Linked DNA regions of Homo sapiens: all the other regions are linked to region 1. The links are contacts of gene promoters, found by promoter capture Hi-C in human tissues and cell types (Jung and others, 2019). All regions are on one chromosome and are shown on one strand. The core of a region is centred on a gene start or on the middle of the fragment in contact, and the rest is flanking DNA. Distances in the headings are between cores, read along the strand shown. Region 1 holds the start of RBM47 (RNA binding motif protein 47). Region 2 overlaps CHRNA9 (cholinergic receptor nicotinic alpha 9 subunit). Region 3 overlaps LINC02265 (long intergenic non-protein coding RNA 2265). Region 4 has its middle 27 kb from the start of CHRNA9.

Region 1 (5,389 bases), core at 1,059-3,558:
CTGGGTTAAATTTTGCCTCATGAGAAGATAAAAGATCAGAAGGATTTAAAATGTTCCAGAATGCTTTGCTGGTTTTAAGGAATCATTTTTCCCAAAGGTGGCAAATGCTGCTTTTTAAATTTATGGTTTTCTTGATACCCCTTCAGCCTTTGTTTCTCTCTCTTAGGACTACTACTTTTTAATTAATTTTCACTTAACTTTCCAATACTGATGAAATAAAGAAAAATGAGGGTTATTTATATATATTTTAATAAATCCAGTTTGATTTTTCAACTTAAAAAAAAATTAACTAGAACTGAGAACCAGTCCTGGCCTCACCACCTTGGACTTACACTTAACCTGTGTGATCTCAGTGTCTTCATCTGCAAAATGGGGACAAAATAGCTCATAGGATCATTTTGTAAGGATCACATAAAGTAAGAAGGGTGAAAGTGCTCCATAAAGTAGAAAGGGCCTCACTAATGGAAAGGGATTATGATTTCTTTCTTTAAATGTGAAGTTAAATGGAGGATAAAGGGTGGAGGCACTGATAACATTTTAGCCTTCAATAATCACTTTTTAATATTTATGAGGAGTTTCAAAATCATTTCCCTCTCTTTCATACTGCTTTTCAAACGGCAAGGGTCATTATTTGTCCGGCCCAGTCTGGGATAAGTAACTATCCCAGGGTAAGACACCAGGTCAAGTGCCAAAATACAAATGAGAATTAAGCATAGCAGATGGGTGATTGCTGGGCCCTGAATTTCCTTCCCGTTAGTGAGCTTCATGGAATGCAGGCAAATTTATCTCCATTTCTGTTGTCAATCTTGTAACTTTTAAGTGAGATGAAATTCAGTTGGCTACCCTTTACAGGGACTTTATTTCCCATTGTATTCAAGACTGTCAGCAATGAATATAAACTGTTTGTAAAAATCCCATCGTTAGAATCTTCCAGAAACTGAGGCTGGGAGAGATTAAATATCTTGCTCATGGCCTCACAGCTGGTGAGTGGCAATGCTGGTGCTACAGCCCATGTCTAACTCTGACCACACACTCTTCTTCAGAAAAAAGCCATAATGTAAATAATAATAAGAAGAATAACAACAACAATAACGGCAGCTAACACTGTGTGCTAGGCACCGTTCTAAGCTCTTTGCATGTGTTAACTCAACCAGCAAAGAACCATTTTTGGAACATTCTTTCACTAAAGTAGCCCGGTATTTTTTTCTTTCCCCTCAGCTGAATGACACTGCAACCCGAAATCACAACTCTGTTTTAGGTTCCTGGTGGTGCCTGCTTCCTCTTCTAGTTTGTTTAGTCACAGAATTCGATTCCTGTTGGCCCATTCCGCGCCTACAAACAGGCTTAGCGCTCCACTGAAATGCGGGAGGCTCCTTAACTCTTGTATAAACAGGTAAGGCGGAGGGGGTGGGGCGCGGATTGCGGACATCTGGGTTTCTTGGGAATTGGGATGGGGTGGGGGTTCGAGCCAACTCCCCAGAGAGCAGGCAAGGTGAAGCGAGGGCTTGGCTGCTGTTTCTAAATGCAGTGTTTTTTTGTTCCCTTTCTAGAAACCCTCCGTAACTCTAGGTCAGAGCGCACTAAAATGAGCCACTTCTGAACGAGCAGCGCCCAGGCCCCAGGCCCTGCTGCGAAGGCCCCGGCAAAGGTCAGGGCCCCGTCCGCGTGACGCTCCTGCCTGCGCGCGGCCAAGCCATGCTCGGCCCCAGGTAAGGACGCCCCGGGAGCTCGCCCCGGGAGCTCTCCCCGGGCACGCGGGGGTCGCAGAGATCCCACCTCGTCCAGCGACTTGTTTATGGGGGGAAGAAGGGGAGCGGGGCGGTTCCGATCGGCTTGAAATTCAGCAGCAGGTTCCTAATTTCTCCAACGTGGTTCTGGCTGGGTTTCTCGGAGCAGCCCGAAGGGGGCCGAGCGTCTGACTCGGACAGATGCCCCCAGGTGGAGCAGGTGCCACTTCTGGGTGTCTGAAAGGCATGTGACTTTTGGGGCGGGGAGAGAAGTCCGTCTGGTCAAGTCCCCCAATCTCTGCCATCAAGGCCGATTTTCTTTGAACCTTCAGCAAAGGTATCTGCGCTCCTAAAAAACAACAGGAATGTGGCACTGGCCTTTAGCCAGGGGAGGCTCAGCCAGCAGGATAAAATTTCAGGGCAGATTTACGGGAAGTTGCCGGTGTTGGGAGTAAAAATCTGGTTTGGTGAGTTTAAGGGAAGGGAGTAGACGAGAGACAACCTTGCTACTGTGAGGCGGATGGCCTCGGCAGGGGGCGGGCGGCGGGAGGAGAGAGGGAGGGAACCGGGAAGGGCCCGCAGACTAGACGCTGAGCGCTCCCGTGCGCAGCGCCCCACGCAGCCGGGACGCGGCGCCGCTCTGCGGGTGGAACCGCCGCGCGCTCCCGGCCTCGGGAGCTGAGCCCGAGAGAACTTCGCTGCCTTCGGGTCGCCGCTCCCGCTTTCCACTGTGGAATGTGCAGCTTGGGATAGAGAGAAACCAGGGTTTGGGGAGCGGTCCTCCTGGAGACTTTCTCTCTGCAAGTCTCCAAGGTTAAGCAATTCTGACCCACTGGAATTCCCAGAGCCTGGGAGTTAAGCCTAAAACGCTCTGTTGCTTTAAGCGGCGCGGTGGGGAGTCGCTGGACACTCCTTATTTTGGTTTTACATTAAAAAGAAGGCGGACGAGAAGATGTTGTAGGTGACTTCCTAGCTGTGTTAAGTTGCTCCTGGGCTGTGAATGGTGTTAATTTCTGAAGTGGGCGGCTCCAAAAACTTAACAAGGAAAGGTAAGGTGGTTTTTGGTAGTCCTTCTAACTATTGTCCCTTAATCTTACATTTGGGTCCCAATTTTTGAAGTGTATATTTTTTTCTTATTCTTCTCTCTTTAGCTCTTATCCCTCATGCTATCACTCATCTTCTGTCTCTTGGTATATTTAGTGGGAAATAAAGGGTTTATAAAACGGTTTTAAAAGGGTCAACCTCTGGGAAGGCAGATAATCATATACAGTCAGTCCCATCGTGTTTCCTGTAGTGATGAATCTTTTCCCATAAAAGAAACTGATTTTTTTTTTTCACTCTTGAAAATACATGATTGGACCGCCCAGAAGCACAGGTGACTTTAGACTCAGATTATTACAGTGAGACTGAGGAAGCGTCCTGGACAGGAGGCATCTCATTTAAGTGTTAACCAAGGCAGAGGGGGGTCTTCCTGCAGTAATTTACGTCTGAAAGTAACACTCGGTAGAGGTGTAGTTGTTTCAAATTAAAAATTCAGCCTGTAGAAAAGGGTAGGACTGACGAATTATGACATCTGACAAATTAGCAGTTGACCGGATATTTAAGAAATCAGATAAAATAAATGGAAGTGGAATTTTTCAAATAAATGACTCATTTTTTAATTAGGTAAAAGTTCAGCCACTCTTGGGTACTGTCCCAAGGCATAAGTGATAGGAAGATACCATCTTCAAGGTACTTACAGGCCATTACCGACCTGAACTAAAAATCAAACCTTTTTTTTTTATCTGGTGGTATTTTAATGACTCACTGTTTTCTTTAGCAGGAATATAGATTTTAAAATGTATTCTTTAAAAGTTTTAAGGCAAGGTCATACGAATTTCTCAGGGGAGGGAAAGCAAAGGGTTGACAACCCAACATGAAGGAGTTGCCGAAGTTTTGAGCTCAAAAGGTTGGCAATTAGATCCAGAGCATTTGAGAATTGCAGGTGCCGATTCTAAAAGGTGAAAGGTGGTCAGCGGCGTAACACACAACCTCTAGATAAACCAAAGTACTCAACCTAGAGCATAAGAAGAGATCACTTTGTGGGAGTTTGTGTTGCTATTAATTTAAACAATGATCTTTGTTAGATCAATGACTTGAAGTCTTGGAGGGAACTAAAATCAACCCAGTCTGAAAGGAAAACAGAAGGAAAAAAAGAAAGGAGGAGATGGTTTGGTTTTTAATATTTTTTTCTGGTCTGCTTTACCCTTCACCTTGTTCTGATATACACACTGTTGGCCTCTTTGACTTAATTATTGCATGCTGGAAGGATGGGGTCTCAGAAATTTCCCAAGCACCTAGCTTCATTATTAACTTTCAGTATGTGTCAAATGAAGAAATAAGCCTAGCTGTGCCGTCCTTTACCTGGCTAGGTAGGCCATGCTTTAAATTAATTAGATCAAGATATTCTGAATATCAATCAATTATTAAAGATTTATTATCTTCCTCTTGGTTTTTGCGTTTACAGAAGTTTGTAGGATTGAGAATTCATCATCATCATTTTTTTTACCAATCTCTATATTTTTAATAGTCAACATATTTATTTTTGATTCCCCCACTGTGCTGCTTTAAATTAAATTTTGAAAGAATTCTGCCCAAAGCAGTAGTGATACTGAGGATGAAATAAAGACAGAAAGCAAGGGAACTACATGCTTCTGGACACGTGTTCTATAGACTTGCTCTAACTAGTGTTAAAGACTACTCATTTTTTTCCTCACATGATAAGAACATTCATATTAGACTATTTGGTTTACTGTTCTAGGTAATGATTTTTTAAAAGATTGGGTTAAGATGAAATTATTTTCTTACAAAAGGATTTAATTTGCTTTTCAAATTCTGCTCTGAAGCTCAAGATTAAATCATGTCCCAAATGACTGAGCTTTCATTGCTATAGAAAAGCATTTGGCTATTTCAGTAAGTTTCCGCCTCCACATCTTAAGTCTCTTGATTTTTCAGAAAAGGTCAGGGGAGTGGATATAAGCGTGAAGGGAGGGAGATTTTCTTAAAATTGGACCCAGGCTCAAGTGAAACTGTGATTAGGTAATCCCAGAAGATACATAATTCTGGGGAAAAAAAACTCTGAAGAGGGTTTAAGTTTGGGATTCATGAGACTTAGAAAAAGGGTATGCTTAGAATAAAGGTAGAATTTGTGTGCCAAACTTTGATGAAGTTACAATGAAGACATTAAATGCAGCTTTAAGTGCTTGTCACCGTGATTCCAAGCTACAGGTTATATTGCAGTGTTTCAGCTACTGGCCTGATTAGGAGATATATTTTCTTTCCCTCTTGGGAACAGTCTCTGTGTCTTAATGATGATGCTGATTTTCTGGTTTAATATCATAAAAGGTGTGTGTTGGTCCCAACATTACTGCTCCAAGTAGTGGCTTCAAAGAGCAACTGGATAAAGATTTTCAATAATAGCAATGCAGAGATGACCTGGGTTTCAAGATAGGAGGCCTTTGGAGCCTTCAGAGAATTGTCATAGAAATGATCAGTAACTAATTGCTCAGTTGCCACCTCAAGTTGTTGTTTCCATCTTATGCGGGAGAGATTCGGGGGAAATGGCACCCTGCCATTTTTTGTGTGTGGTCCTGAATCATCCTGTTGGTAAAACTCCTGAGGTC
Region 2 (4,900 bases), core at 673-3,172, 290 kb after region 1:
GAGGCTGAAGTGAAGTTATACCCTATGCAAATGAAGATGTGACCTACAACCAATCAGAGGCTGAAGTGAAGTTACACCTCATGCAATGAAGACTTGGTCTGTGACGAGTTGGAAGCTGAAGTGAAGGCTCCCTGTCTCCAGACCCTACTGAGGAGAATACTCTCTCAACTTGAGTCCAGGAGGTCAAGGCTGCAGTAAGCTACGATCACACCAGGGCACTCTAGCCTAGGTGACAGAGCAAACTACCGCCACCACCCCCGCCAAAAAACAAAAAAAAAAACCTGACCATGAAAACCCTGCCATAATGAATTCAAATTTAAAATTTCTGTAATCTGCATTTTACCTAATCTAAAAATGTCAGGAATCCTTGTAGCCTCTTATACCAGCCACTATACTAACCATATACTAATACTAAACATTCCTGCCAGAACTTTGAGCCCCAATTCATTTATTTCTCTACTGATTTACTGAAAGAGCCAGTATCTACTTGAACTGTTACATTGCTAAAAAGCTCACTATTTCTTGGGACAATTCATTGCCGAAGTTATTAGGGAAATGTTCTTTTTTTTTTTTTTTTTTTTGGAGAGCTTATCTTCCCTTTGGCTTCTACTGATTATCTCGGGTTTTGTCTTCTGGAACGTTGTTTGTTCTCTTTTTTCTACCTTACTTTCTCTCTGATTACCTAAGGTAACCATCATCAAGTCTTCAAGGTCTTCTCTCTTCCAAACTAAGCATCAGCAAATTCAACTGTTCTGTGAAGTGGCATCCAGGCCCATCTCCTTCCTGATCACTCCCTAACCAGTCTAGCCCCATGGATTTGGGCACCAATGGTGACTCTAGATGCTAAGCATCTTCCTGCCTGAGTGTCTTTATCACACTGGACTGACTCACCTACCCCCTAACCCTATTTCTCCTTCTTGCCACAACTCAGGAAGCCCATTGTGTTGCCTATGATGTTCTGTACCTGCTTCTGAGAAGCAATGATATTGTATCTGGCATCAGAAGATTCTACAGAGTCAGGGATTCAGCAAGAAGGACTGAGCTCAGGGAAATAGCCATGACTAAGGGCCCTTCTTTGCCTGATCCTGCAACACTCTTCCATTTTCATTTCAATTTGTTAAAGGCATGAAGATGTCATCCAACCATAGCTCCATTTAGAGGTTCCTCTACACAGCAAAACTCTGAGAAGTTTTACTGAGAAGGAGAAGGCAAAAGAGAAGAGAGGAGCAGAAACAGAATTGTCCATGACAAGAGCACAGAGATGACTAAAGAGTCAACCAGAGGAACAAAAAGGAGATGATGAATCAGTGTGGTGAAAGGCTCTGTGTAAAGGGGTGGAGAGTGGGGAAGGGACAATGTGGACAGAACCAGCCAAAGCCACACTAGGCTTGTGTGAACTCATGAGTACATAACTGGCTTCTCTAATAAGGGAGCAGTGGGGTCAGCTTAACTTAGGATGCCTTGTAAGCTTGCAAAGAAGCATTTCAGTAAGACAAGGTCACCACCTCAGCCTATCAAAACAGGAGGGAGAGGGGGACCACCGTTCTGTTTGACTTCTGGAGAGAATTTTTAGAACTTACAGAATGCTGGCCGGGCACAGCAGCTCATGCCTGTAATCCCAGCACTTTGGGAGGCTGAGCTGGGTGGATCACTTGAGCCCAGGAGTTCGAAACCAGCCTGGGCAACATGATGAGACTCTGTCTCTACTAAAAATTAAAAAAAACAATAACTAGGCATGGTGGCATGCACCTGTAGTCCCAGCTACTCAGGAGGCAGAGGTGGGAGAATAACCTGAGCCCGGGAAGTTGAGGCTGTAGTGAGCCATGATCACACCACTGCACTCTAGCGTGGGCGATAGGAGTGAGACCCCGCCTTTTTTTTTTTTTTTTTTTGAGATAGAGTCTAGCTCTGTCACCCAGGCTGGACTGGAGCGCGATCTCGGCTCACTGCAAGCTCCGCCTCCCGGGTTCACGGCATTCTCCTGCCTCAGCCTCCTGGTGCCTGCCACCATACCCAGCTAATTTTTTTGTATTTTTAGTAGAGACGGGGTTTCACCATGTTAGCCAGGATGGTCTCGATCTCCTGACCTCATGATCCGCCCCCCTCGGCCTCCCAAGGTGCTGGGATTACAGGCGTGAGCCACCATGCCTGGCCCCCAGACCCTGTCTTAAAATTAAAAAAAAAAGAACTTACAGAATTCTGTAAGAGATCATCTGTGTCAATGAAATTATCTTTCTTTTTCTTTTTTCTTTCTTTTTTTTTTTTTTTTTTTTTTGAGATGGAGTCTCGCTCTTGTCGCCCAGGCTGGAGTGCAGTGGTGCAATCTTGGCTCACTGCAACCCCTGCCTCCCGGGTTTAAGTGAGTTTCCTGCCTCAGCCTCCCAAGTAGCTGGGATTACAGGCGCCCGCCACCACACCCAGCTGATTTTTTGTATTTTTAATAAAGACCGGATTTCACCATGTTAGCAAGGCTGTTCTCGAACTCCTGACCTCAGGCGATCCACCTGCCTTGGCCTCCCAAAGTGCTGGGATTACAGGGGTTAGTCCTCACGCCCTGCCTGTGTCAATGAAATTATCAGATATTACTCTCCTGCACTCTGCAGACGAGAGTGTGGTAATGGACAATGTGGTTTGTTTTCTTGCTCTGTGTGTGTGTGTGTGTGAGAGAGAGAGGGAGAGAGAGAGACAGAGAGAGAGAGAGACAGAGACAGAGACAGAGAGAGCGAGCACGGGGAGGGAGGGTAAACTGGAGGAATAAAGCCCAGTATTTGAATGTTATCTTCCTGTTATATTCCTTGGGAAGGAATACAGATGATTCCTCTGGCCACTCAGAGTTGGGAATGGACAGAAAAACAGGGCTATGATTCCAGAGCTCATGACCCTTAGATGAGCTCTCTGAGTAAGGAGTGAGACTAAAATCCAGGCTGCAACCCACCCGTGCTGCTTCCTTAAAGGAAATCCATGCCCACTGGAAGCCTCCACCCAGGGGAGCCCCCTGAGCTGCCCCTCATTCACATAGGTCTGAGCCACAGAGGAACTCTTCCCACTCCACAGAAACTTGGGTTCCAGAATAAAAACAGAGAGAAGCTCTTTCAACAACAGGCGGGGCCACTGAGCTTGAACTGTGACCAGAGATCTGGTATTTTTCTCAAAATGCAGCCCATGGACCCACAGTGCCCACGTCTTCCGGAGCTTGTAGAAATGCAGAATCACAGGCCCGCCCCACACCCATGGAATCACAATCTGTATTTTAACAAACTCCCTGGGCGATTCATATGCACCTTACAGCTTGCGAAACATAAACTTTACCTACCCGTTATACAATGCCCCTTGCTCTGAGACCGGGAAAACGTCACTTTGTATCCCGTAAACTGGTTCATCCTCCACTCCACACAAAGCCCCAAATCCACAGGTCAGTTTCTAGATGGCCCATTCCGGTTTAATTAATTATTGATACATGATCTTGGATGGTGAGTGTCACTGTTAAGAGTTGAATTGTGTCCCTGAAAAATTCACATATTGAAGTCTTAGCCCCCAACACTCAGAATGTGACTTGATTTGAGAATAGTATCATGAAGATGTAATTAGTTAGGTTAAGATGAAGTCACGCTGGAGTAGGGTGGACATCTAATCCAATATGGCTGGTGTCCTTATAGAAAGGGGAAATTTGGACACAGGGAACACACAGGAGAATGCCATGTGAAGATGAAGGCAGAGCTCAGAGTGACGCTTCTATAATGCCAAGAACACCAAAGACTGCCAGCAAACCACCATTAGCTAGAAGAGAGGCCTGGTACAGATCCTCCCTCACAGCCCTCAGAGGAAACCACGCTGTCAACCCCTTCATCTCAGGCATCTCAACTCCAGAACTGTGAGATAACACATTTTTGTTAAGTCATCTAATCTGTGCTACTCTGTTATGGCAAAGTTAGCCCTAGCAAACTAATGCAGCCTCCACTTTCCCACCTGAAAAAGGGGCATGTAGATGGATGGTTTCTTTCCAGCTCTAAGCTTTTATGACATATTATTTCCTGATCTAAGATTCTATGTCTCTTATTTCAGTAAGTCCTAGGAACATGGATTAATATTTAATTTCATGCATGTTTTAAACATTCCTTTTTCATTATGTTTAAATTCTATGAAATCAACACGTTCATGCCTGAAAAGCCTCAGTTCTGAGCTGCACTTACTTGTTATATAAGACGATGTCTGGCCTCCACACGAGGTCACTGGGGATCCTGATGGAGTCTAGGCCATCGTACTGATCTCGGTCCCACGTGAGATAGGCATCGTGCCAGATTTGGCGGATCCACAAATAAGCAGTCAGAATTTGGTTTCTTTCATCCTACACAATGAATCCAGATGTCGCTTTACCTAGCAGACACTTGAAATGTTTTCCACTGATAGGACACTTGTTCTTCACAATAGGAATTTCACAAACACTCATCAAATTTCAATAAGTAAAGTGAGAGCTTTATTCTTTATTTATTCTATCCCCTTGATTGACTGCCAAGATCATATTTTTTTTCCTCCTAGATTTAGTGTTCAGAATGTAAAGTGGACAAATATTTTAGTATTGATATCTTTGCATAGATCAACTGCCTATATTTCCTGAAAATTGATCAATGAATGATGTACTTGAAAGCAAAAGTCAGGAAATAACAATGTGCAGAAGGAAAATCTTTCAAGTTTCATAACATTGTGTAATTAAACATAGATAAGCACTAATAAGCTATGCCATCTTAAAACACTACCTTTTTTAAAAAATTGAGATTGGCCGGGCGCGGTGGCTCATGCCTGTAATCCCAGCACTTTGGGAGGCCGAGGCGGGCGAATCATGAGGTCAGGAGATTGAGACCATCCTGACTAACACGGTAAAACCCTGTCTCTACTAAAAATA
Region 3 (4,915 bases), core at 2,157-4,656, 310 kb after region 1:
GAAGGCTGTGCAAAGTGATATTTCCTAGCTTTTTGCATGGAAAGGCAGCATAGCATAGTTAGGAGTAGTGAAGAGTCCCTGAAAGGATTCTGGGTTCAGGCTGTCTGGGTTCAAATCATCGAATTGCCACGTTTTAGCTGGTGGCCTGGGGAAAGTTGTTTAAACTCTCTGTGTTCAGTTTACTCATCTCTAAAGGGGGCAGAACAAAGACTCTGTCATGAGGTTGTTCTGAGGATTGAATGAGGTGATACACATAAAAAGCTTACAACACTGACGACATCTCTAAAAGTAGAGAGCAAACATTTGCTTCATGTCTGATACTCTGTGACAGACGCTCAACTCATACTTGAACCCAGGACATTAGACTTGCATTTCTTTTCCACCGGATCAGACTATACTTCACCATCCATTTTGGCTAGAATGTGCTAACATTTTTGCCCTGCAGGCACGAGCTGCCCTCTGCGTAGCTCTCTTCCTCGTTTCCATGGCTGCATTTCTTTTTCCTGCGTAATTGAAAACCCCAACTGCAGAGGCAGGTTTATTTATAGCTGAAAAATTAGTGTTATTTAGCTTGAGCTTTTCTGCAACCATCAGTCCATTACTGTAAGAGCATCCACATTTACATTGCAACATCCTTCTGTTTTCCCAGTGCCCTGTAATTCTTAATTAGCTACTCAAAACAATGTTTATTGAATGTCTATAGAGAGAGAAACCTGATCCAGCCTTTTTACATCCAAAACCAGTATCTACCCAAAGCTCAGACTCTCACATACCAACCACTTCCTGGACAGCTCTGCTTGGAGATTCCATAGCATTTCAGATGTGGTCAAGTGGAACTCACTATCTTCCCCTGGCCTGCCATGGGTTCCTGGTTTTGATGAAGAAAGTCACCATTTCCCAGTCCCCCATGCCAGATACTGGGAGTTGTCCCAGATTCCCCTCACATACTACTACATCCCATCTGCTACCAGGCTCCATCAATCCTGTCTGCTAAGCCCACGCCATCCCTCTTATCACCCCAAACCCCTACAAGGTAGTATTTCCTGGACTATTGAAAACCATCTTGGGGCTGTTCCTTCTTCCTTCAGTCTCCTTTTCCTCTAGTCCCCACTCACACTGCTGTTACTTCAATGTTTTGGACTCTGACCATGTTACACTCCCCTGCCTGTATGAAATCCTCCCATGTCCCCCATCACCCACAGGATGAAGGCCCTGCTCTAAATCATGGCATAGGAGACCCTTCAAACTCTCTGTCCTGCCTTCCTCACCAGGTGCATCGCCTGCCATCCCACATAGCTTTTTTTCTCTTTTCTTTTCTTTTTTTCCCCTCTATTTATTTATTTATTTATTTATTTAAGACGGAGTCTGGCTCTGTCGCCCAAGCTGGCGTACAGTGGCACGATCTCGGCTCACTGCAACCTCCACTTCCCGGGTTCAAGTGATTCTCCTGCCTCATCCTCCTGAGTAGCTGGGATTACAGGCATGCATCACCACACCTGGCTAATTTTTGTATTTTCAGTAGAGACGGGGTTTCCCTATGTTGGCCAGGCTAGTCTCAAACTCCTGACCTCAGGTGATCTGCCCACCTAGGCCTCCCAAAGTGCTGGGATTACAGGCATGAGCCACCGCACCCGGCCCCACATAGCTCTAATAGCAAGGTGATTTGCTGCACTCTCTCGGGCCTCCATGCTGTTTCCATGTTGTCCCTCAGCCTGGAATAGTTGTCCCCTCCATGCCCAACCAGTGAACAGCTTCTCTTTCAAGTCTCATCTTGAAAATCACCTAATCGAGAAAGCCCTTTCCAACCTCCCAGGCAGAATTCCGTGCTTCCTCTCCTATGTTCTTGTGGTTTCTGGTACATACTTCTATCACAGTGCCCATCCCGTTACTCAACTGTTTACCTATTGTCTCCCCGGCCAGACTGAGCATCTCTCAGATGCTCCATTTGTCTTGGTATCCCCAGTATTTGATATACAAGAGGTGTCCAATAAATGCTCATGAAATACATGATTGTAGTGGTGAGAGCCAGGCCTGACAGAGATCTCTTGATTGGCAGTCACCCTCCTCCCATGCCACAATTCCCCAGGCAGTCTTGGCTGGCCTTCCCTGGGCAGTGACGCTTCTGGTGTCCGCGGTGAGAGGATGGTGGCAGCTGAGTGTCTTAACCTTAATGTGCACACACCTGTGCCAAGCATGGCTCCCTAAAGGGCAGCCTTAAGAGCAAGATGAAACAACCTTGGATGTAAATGCGCCTGGCAGAGAAACTAGCCCCACTGTGACCCAGCTTGTCAGAGTGGATCCCCGTTGCGGAACGGATGTGCTGTGTTTGGGAGCTGACAGATTCCAGTCAAAATGGAAGGACCTAAATGAATTTAGATTCCACCTTTGACCTAGCCTGGATGCAGAGGCTCATGCCTGTAATCCCAGCACTTTGGGAGGCCGAGGCAGGCAGATCACTTGAGATCAGGAGTTCGAGACCAGCCTGGCCAACATGGCAAAACCCCACCTCTACTAAAAATATAAAAATTAGCTGGGCGTGGTGGCAGGCGCCTATAATCCCAGATTCTCGGGAAGCTGAGGCAAAAGAATCACTTGAACCCGGGAGGTGGAGGTTGCAGTGAGCCGAGATCGCACCACTGCAGTCCAGCCTGGGCGACAGAGTGAGACTCTGTTTCAAAAAAAAAAAAAAAATTCTACCTTTGACCTAAATCCAGTGTAGTAATAGCCAAGATAAGTAAGATAAGTACAAGCTCAAGAGTTAAGCTTCTGGAGAAAAGAGAACTGTATTTAACTTAACTTAGGTTGTAAGCCCCTCAGCAGAGGGGAGTGGATCACCTTTTTGATGAGAATACATGTTTTAAGATAAATATTAAAACCACTTCCAGCTGGTCATGGTGGCTCACACCTGTAATCCCAGCACTTTGGGAGGCTAAGGTGGGTGGATCACAAGGTCAGGAGTTCGAGACCAGCCTGGCCAAAATGGTGAAACCCCATCTCTACTAAAAATACAAACATCAGCCTGGCATGGTGGTGGGCGCCTGTAGTCCCGGCTACTTGGGAAGCTGAGGCAGGAAAATCGCTTGAACCCGGGATGCAGAAGTTGCAGTGAGCCAAGATCTGGCCACTGCACTCCAGCCTGGGTGACAGAGCGAGACTCTGTCTCAAACAACACAAAACAAAACAAAAAAAATATTTCCTAGTTTCCCAGTAGAAACAGGCACTGAGAGGTGAGTTTTGATCAGAATAGTGCTGCAAAATCCACTCATACTGCAAATATTTACTGAATGCTGGGCAGAGAGTTCACAAGAATTAACTACACATCATCTCATCCTTCAAGGTGATTATGGAATATTTAGAGGAAAAAGACAAATTTCTAAGAAAAGCTGAATAACAATAAAAGTTAAATAAGTAATGCAAGCAAGAAGACTATTTTTTTTTTTTTTTTGAGAGAAGTCTCACTCTTGTTCCCCAGGCTGGAGTTCAATGGCACAGTCTCGGCTCACTGCAACCTCCATCTCCCGGGTTCAAAAGATTCTCCTGCCTCAGCCTCCCAAGTAGCTGGGATTACAGGCGCCTGCCACCAGGTCCGGCTAATTTTTTTGTATTTTTGGTAGAGACGGGGTTTCACCATGTTGGCCAGGCTGGTCTCAAATTCCTGACCTCAGGAGATCCACCTGCCTTGGCCTCCCAAAGTGCTGGGATTACAGGCGTGAGCCACTGCACCTGACTCTTTTTTTTTTTTTTTTTGACAGGGTCTTGCTTTGTCACCCACTGGAGTGCAATGGTGCAATCTCAGGTCATTGCAACCTCTGCCTCCTGGACTCAAGCGATCCTCCCACCTCGGCCTCCAGAGAGCTGGGACCACAGGCACCGCCACCACATCCAGCTACTTTTTTTTTTTATTTTTAGTAGAGACAGGGATTTCACCATGTTGCCCGGGCTAGTCCCGAACTCCTAAGCTCAAGCGATTTGCCCACATCAGCCTCCCACAGTGCTGGGATTATAGGCGTGAGCCACTGCACCCTGCCAACTATTCCTTAAAGGCGTGACTCGCTGCCAAATGAGAGGTCTGAACCAGAAGTTCAGAGAAGGGAAAGAAGGTTGTGCCTCCAGGGTGGACTGATCCATAGGAGGCAGAGACCAAAAACGAGGCTCTCACTTGACGGACTGGACCAGCAAGATGGAGTGCATGGTGGAGGCGTGGGGGTGCATCTTGGTAGAAAAAAAGCCTTTGGGATTTGGGACTGGAGTTTCTGTTCTGTCATTTATTAGTGAGAGATCTCAGGCATTTTTAAAAAATCTTCTTTGCACCTCAGTTTCCTCATGGGTGAAAGGAATAATATTATCTACCCCACTGGGCTCCACATATCATTCAGACCACAAGCATCTGTGGAGTCTACTTATACTAAGCCCTTTTGATAAGCCCTGGAGTACAAGATGAAAAGAGAAGGGCCTGCCCTCAAGAGCTGCCAGAGAAGGAGGGGCAGTCACTGTTGGTCCCTCTCTTCATTTACCTTCCAGGGGTCTGTCTTTTTGTTTGTTTGTTTGTTTGTTTGTTTTGTTTTGTTTTTTGTGTGTGTGAGAGATGGAGTCTCACTCTGTCATCCAGGCTGGAGTGCAGTGGCACGATCTCGGCTCACTGCAAGCTTCGCCTCCTGGATTCAAGCAATTCTACTGCCTCAGCCTCCGGAGTAGCTGGGACTGGAACTACAGGCGCCCGCCACCAAGCCCGGCTAATTTTTTTTTTTTTTTTTTTTTTTTTTTTTTTTTTTGTATTTTTAGTAGAGACAGGGGTTTCACCGTGTTAGCCAGGATGGTCTCGATCTCCTGACCTCGTAATCTGCCCGCCTCGGCCTCCCAAAGTGCTGGGATTACAGACAGGCGTGAGCCACCGTGCCCGGCCCAGAGGTCTGTC
Region 4 (5,028 bases), core at 1,879-4,378, 270 kb after region 1:
CTGGGTGGCAATATAGATAATAAACTTAGTTTGGGATGTGTTGAGTTTGAAGGCCTGTGAGAAGTGGAGATACTCAGAGGACTTGAAGATTCTATTGGGTTTGGAGCTAAGGGGAGCTCAAGATTGGACAAGCGGTTTTGAGAACCTTCAGGACATACATAATCATCAGGAGAGCTGAGGATGTAACATGGAGGGACACCAACCTTGACCAGAAGAGGAGGAGTCGGAGCCAGCCAGGGGTTCTGAGAACGTGCCACTTAAGAAGCAGAAAGGGGTAACACAGGCCGGGTGAGTGGCTCCTGCCTATGCGTCTGCGGTGGCAGAGGTGGGTGGAACACTGGAGGTCAGGAGTTCGAGAACATCCTGACCAATGTGGTGAAACCCCATCTTTACTAAAAATACAAAAATTAGCCAGACATGGTGGCAGGCACCTGTAATCCCAGCTACTCGGGAGGCTGAGGCAGGAGAATTGCTTGAACCCAGGAGGCGGAGATTGCAGTGAGCCAAGATCACATCACTGTATTCCAGCCTGGGCGACAGAGTGAGACTCTGTCTCAAACAAAAAAAAAAAAAGTGGGGAGGGGGTAACAGAAGATAAGACAGAAGTGTTTCAGGAAAGAGAAAGCAGTCAACTGTGCTGAAGGCAGCAGAGAGGCCTCAGCGGTATCCAGTGGATTTGCAGTTACCAAGTCCATGGTGAGCTTGGTCAGAGCAGTTCCAGTTGACTGTGGAGAAAATAAATCAGGTTTTAAACACAGAGTGAGGACAAAGAATGAGGGAATGTGCCAGATGTCTCCCTTTGTCCTTCCAGATTCACACTCAATGCTTTGCCACTCTGCTGTCTGTCCTGGGCACACAGGCAGCACCAACAGATTCCCATGACTGTTGAGTTTGGCCAACGGTGAGCCCTAGGAGGAGACTGGAGGGAAGGAGGGTGAGATGGGGATATATATATATATCCCCCAACTCCTTCCCTAAGGCTTCTGCCACATTTGCTCAACCAGAAGTCATGGCTTTCCTCCTGGGTCCAGGTAACCACTCCTTCCCACCTCCTCTCAGGCCTAGAGTGGTAACAGCTCTGCTTTTCTAGGCCTGGGATTTTCTACTGCCCCTGGTGTTTCTCTGCAACCTGCCTACACCTTTGCAGACACTCCTTTATTACACCTTCCTCAAATTATCTTTATATGAACACACCATCTGTGTCCTGCTGGAAGCCTGAATGATCCAGGAGGGAAATTTGACTGACAAGAGTAAAGAGACAGAAATACACAAAGGCAAAAGAGGTTTTGTCATGGGGTTTTATTTTTTAAGTGTTGGAGTGGCTTGGATATATTGATAAGCTCATGAAGTTTTAACAGTCAGGTCTTATTTCAAAGGCGTAATCTGAGAGGAAGGAAGAAAAGGCAGAGAGCTCTTTGCTCTCTGGGGTTGGTGACATGTCAAGTGGCCTCACCACAATTGCTTCAGATGTTCTAGAACTTGTGTTTCCAGTTTGTCCAAGACAGTCCAGTTGCCAGGTTTGTCCCGGTTGCATTGGTAAAGCGTTGGTCTGAGCCCTAAGCTGACGGAAAAGGAGACACAGAGGCTAAAGAAGGAGAAAGAACAAAGGTCAGGACCTCAACAAACCTGGACACACCTCAGCGCGCTGAGGCAGTCAGACAATAAACAAAGTAGTTGGTGTTTTCTTAAACTTTGCAAGGCTCTGGATCACCCAGCCCTGCTCACCTTGCCAATCTCGACTCTTATGTCTCTTGGGTCATTGATCTGATTTCACTGTTCTGCCTCAGGGGCCTCCTCTCCCTTTCTCCAACGTCAGGAGCTGTGTTCTGCCCTTGAGCCTGAGCTCCTACCTGCAACCTGGCACTTCTCCCACCTCTAACCCCGGCCAGCTCTTTCTCACCCTCAGGTCTCATCTGAAACACCACTTTCTCCACAGGCTGCCCACCCAACCCAAAGCAGTCCCTTGCTTTATCTCCAGAGCACCCTGGCTCCTCTTCCATAGTGGCTACCACTTCTTAAAATGCATGGAGGTGAAGAATTTTATTTAGAAAGTCTAATTTTTGGCCGGACGTGGTGGCTCACACCTGTAATCCCAGCACTCTGGGAGGCTGATGCAGGCAGATCACCTGAGGTTGAGAGTTCAAGACCAGCCTGACCAACATGGAGAAACCCCCTCTCTACTAAAAATACAAAATTAGCCAGGCGTGGTGGCACATGTCTGTAATCCCAGCTACTTGGGAGGCTGAGGCAGGAGAATTGCTTGAACCCAACGGGAGGCGGAGGTGGCTGTGAGCCGAGATCACGCCATTGCACTCCAGCCTGGGCAACAAGAGCGAAACTCCATCTCAAAAAAAAGGAAGTCTAATTTTCTTACAAGCTTTTTTGTTTGTTTGTTTGTTTTTGTTTTGACATCTATGTCTTTAATCTGTCTGAAACTTATTTTTGTATACAGTAGTCTGATTGTCTCAATAGCTATACAACATTTACCTTCCCGCTTTGCTGTAGTATTTTGTATTTTGTTTGTATTTTTACTTGCATTGCTTATCCAGGGAACTCTGTACCAAAGCATGGCTAAGAGCAGTTGAATGAAGCATCTCTTCTATTTTTCCCCTTTTCTGTCTTCTTTTGTGTTGGAAATAGTTTACCTTTCCTCGTGTTTCCTTTTTCAATTTAGAAGACACAACTAATATTTCTATACTTTTAAGGCCATTCCTTAAATTTTTGGCATCTATTCAAATATGATATATTTTACTAATATTAAAAGTAATTTGTGGCTGGGCACAATGGCTCATGCCCGTAATCCCAGCACTTTGGGAGGCTGAGGCAGGCAGATCACTTGAGGTCAGGAGCTCGAGACCAGCCTGGCCAACATGCCAAAACCCCATCTCTAGGAAAAATACAAAAATTAGCCAGGCATAATGGTGGGCGCCTATAATCCCAGCTACTAACGAGGCTGAGGCACGAGAATTTCTTAAACCCAAGCGGCGGAGGTTGCAGCGAGCCAAGATTGCAGCAGTGCACTCCAGCCTGGGTGACAGAGTAAGACCGTATCTCAAAAAAAAAAAAAAAAGTAATTTGTTATCTAGACAAAGACCTTAGTGTGGTTTAGGTTCCATCTTACCTTCCCCTTCTTAATTTCCACATCATTACATAGAGTTTTTGTTCTACCTTATATGAAACATGTCTTTGTATTATTAATAATACTATTGCAATAATTACACTATACACAATCTAGGCTCATTGCAGCCTCCACCTCCTGGGTTCAGGCAATTCTCCCACCTCAGCCTCTCGGGTAGCTGGGATTACAGGGGCGCTCCACCATGCCTGGTTATTTTTTGCATTTTTAGTAGAGCAAGGTTTCATCATGTTGGCCAGGCTGGTCTCAAACACCTGACCTCAGGTGATCCACCCGCCTTGGCCTCCCAAAGTGCTGGGATTACAGGCATAAGCCACCGTGCCCTGCCACAAATTATATTTTATTGATGTTTTTCTCATTGTTGCTTTCTGTATTTTTCTTCCTTCCATTAAGTTCACTTTTGTTCTTGTTGAAGTTATTTAAATTAAGGGTCAAGGGTAAGGGCAAGGTAAGTATTGTTATTTTTTTGTACGTCTACATTTTTTTCTGCAACTGTGAATAGTTCAGCTGAGTGTTCAAATTTTATGTTGACAGTCAATTTTCTTTGGCATTTTGAAGATATTACTCCATGTTTCTTGGCTTCTATAGTTGCAGATGAGAAGTCTGTTGCCAACTCAATTGCTGTTATTTTGAAGGCAGTCTGTTGCATAATATAGGAGGCTTTTCATGGTCAGCATTTCTGTAGTGATTTGTTGGACTCTCTAACAGCTCTTCCTTTCACCCGGTCATTCATTTAACAATTGTTTACTGTTTAATGATTGTGTACTAGGCCTGTTATTGTGCACAATGACGGAGAGAATAATGACAGAGCTTCTGGGCCCCAGGTCTGGAGAGGGTCTGAATATACTTGGGGAAGTAGACATGAAAATGAAGAAATGACCGCATAACAAGATAAAGCTTTAATGATGCAGACTGATTGTGAGTTTCTAGAATTCTGGCAAGGAATGTGATTTTATTCTATTGAGTTTCTCACAGTTTGTAGCACCATGTCTTACCCACTGAAATCAGTTAAAAATACTTTAACAATTAACCTGAGTATAACATCTCTTTAATATTTTTCTTTTTCTTTTTTTTTTTTTTAACTGAGACAGAGTCTTGCTCTGTCACCCAGGCTGGAGTGTAGTGGCGTGATCTTGGCTCACTGCAAGCTCTGCTTCCTGGGTTCACGCCATTCTCCTGCCTCAGCCTCCAGAGTAGCTGGGACTATAGTTGCCTGCCACCACGCCTGGCTAATTTTTTGTATTTTTAGTAGAGATGGGGTTTCACCGTGTTAGCCAGGATGGTCTCGATCTCCCGACATCGTGATCCGCCTGCCTCAGCCTCCCAAAGTGCTCAGATTACAGGCATGAGCCACCACACCCCACCTAATATTTTTCATTTTAAAATTATTTTAGCTTTCACTTTTCTCCAGTTTCAAATGCATGGTCGACTACTTACTAGCTATCTCTGCCAGGATTTCCTATGAGAATTTCCAGCTCAAGATGCCCTACAAAGAATTCTTTCCTCCAATACCTGGTTCTCTTTTACTCTTCACCTTGATTGTCTGCATTATTCTCAATGCCATCCTCTCCCTAAGCCCGTATCCAACTAGCCTGTCTATTCTAGGTCATAAATATTTTGTGATCTGTAATCTTATCCATTTTCTTATTCCCACCATCTTGGGTCAAACCTTCATTATCACTTTCCTAAACAGGTAAAAAAAAAAAAAAAATCCCAATAGATCTCCCTGCCTTTTACCACTTTTCTCTACAGTCTTTTAATTGCCACCACAGTCTTATTTCTTAAACATTGGATACTGAATTGGTTTTCTATTGCTGCTATAACAAATTACCATAAATTTCATGTCTTAACCCACATTTGTTATCTTGGAGTTTGGGAGGGTCAAAAGTCTG

The links. Contacts are between HindIII fragments. The study calls those that stand out against the background at their distance.
Region 2: a fragment that was not itself captured here is called in contact with the fragment with the promoter of RBM47 in region 1 in 2 of the 25 tissues and cell types used here (ovary and pancreas).
Region 3: a contact is called between a fragment that was not itself captured here and the fragment with the promoter of RBM47 in region 1, in 1 of the 25 tissues and cell types used here (lymphoblastoid cells).
Region 4: a fragment that was not itself captured here is called in contact with the fragment with the promoter of RBM47 in region 1 in 5 of the 25 tissues and cell types used here (heart right ventricle, liver, mesenchymal stem cells and 2 more).

What each region holds. Positions count from the first base shown.
Region 1 is chr4:40,626,783-40,632,171 of GRCh38, reverse strand. It overlaps RBM47 (RNA binding motif protein 47), which reads left to right and starts at 2,308. Exons shown (of 7, transcript NM_001098634.2): 1 at 2,308-2,776. RefSeq lists enhancers at 2,445-2,514, 1,697-2,574, 2,575-3,451. The HindIII fragment of the contact is 13,848 bases long and covers 1-5,389 here.
Region 2 is chr4:40,336,655-40,341,554 of GRCh38, reverse strand. It overlaps CHRNA9 (cholinergic receptor nicotinic alpha 9 subunit), which reads right to left. Exons shown (of 5, transcript NM_017581.4): 3 at 4,191-4,345. Among named protein-coding and RNA genes, the nearest start is that of CHRNA9, 3.8 kb to the right of the region's middle. The HindIII fragment of the contact is 7,431 bases long and covers 1-4,900 here.
Region 3 is chr4:40,317,614-40,322,528 of GRCh38, reverse strand. All of the region lies in intron 2 of LINC02265 (long intergenic non-protein coding RNA 2265), which reads right to left. Among named protein-coding and RNA genes, the nearest start is that of LINC02265, 13 kb to the right of the region's middle. The HindIII fragment of the contact is 3,787 bases long and covers 1,513-4,915 here.
Region 4 is chr4:40,360,252-40,365,279 of GRCh38, reverse strand. No RefSeq gene overlaps it. Among named protein-coding and RNA genes, the nearest start is that of CHRNA9, 27 kb to the right of the region's middle. The HindIII fragment of the contact is 6,053 bases long and covers 102-5,028 here.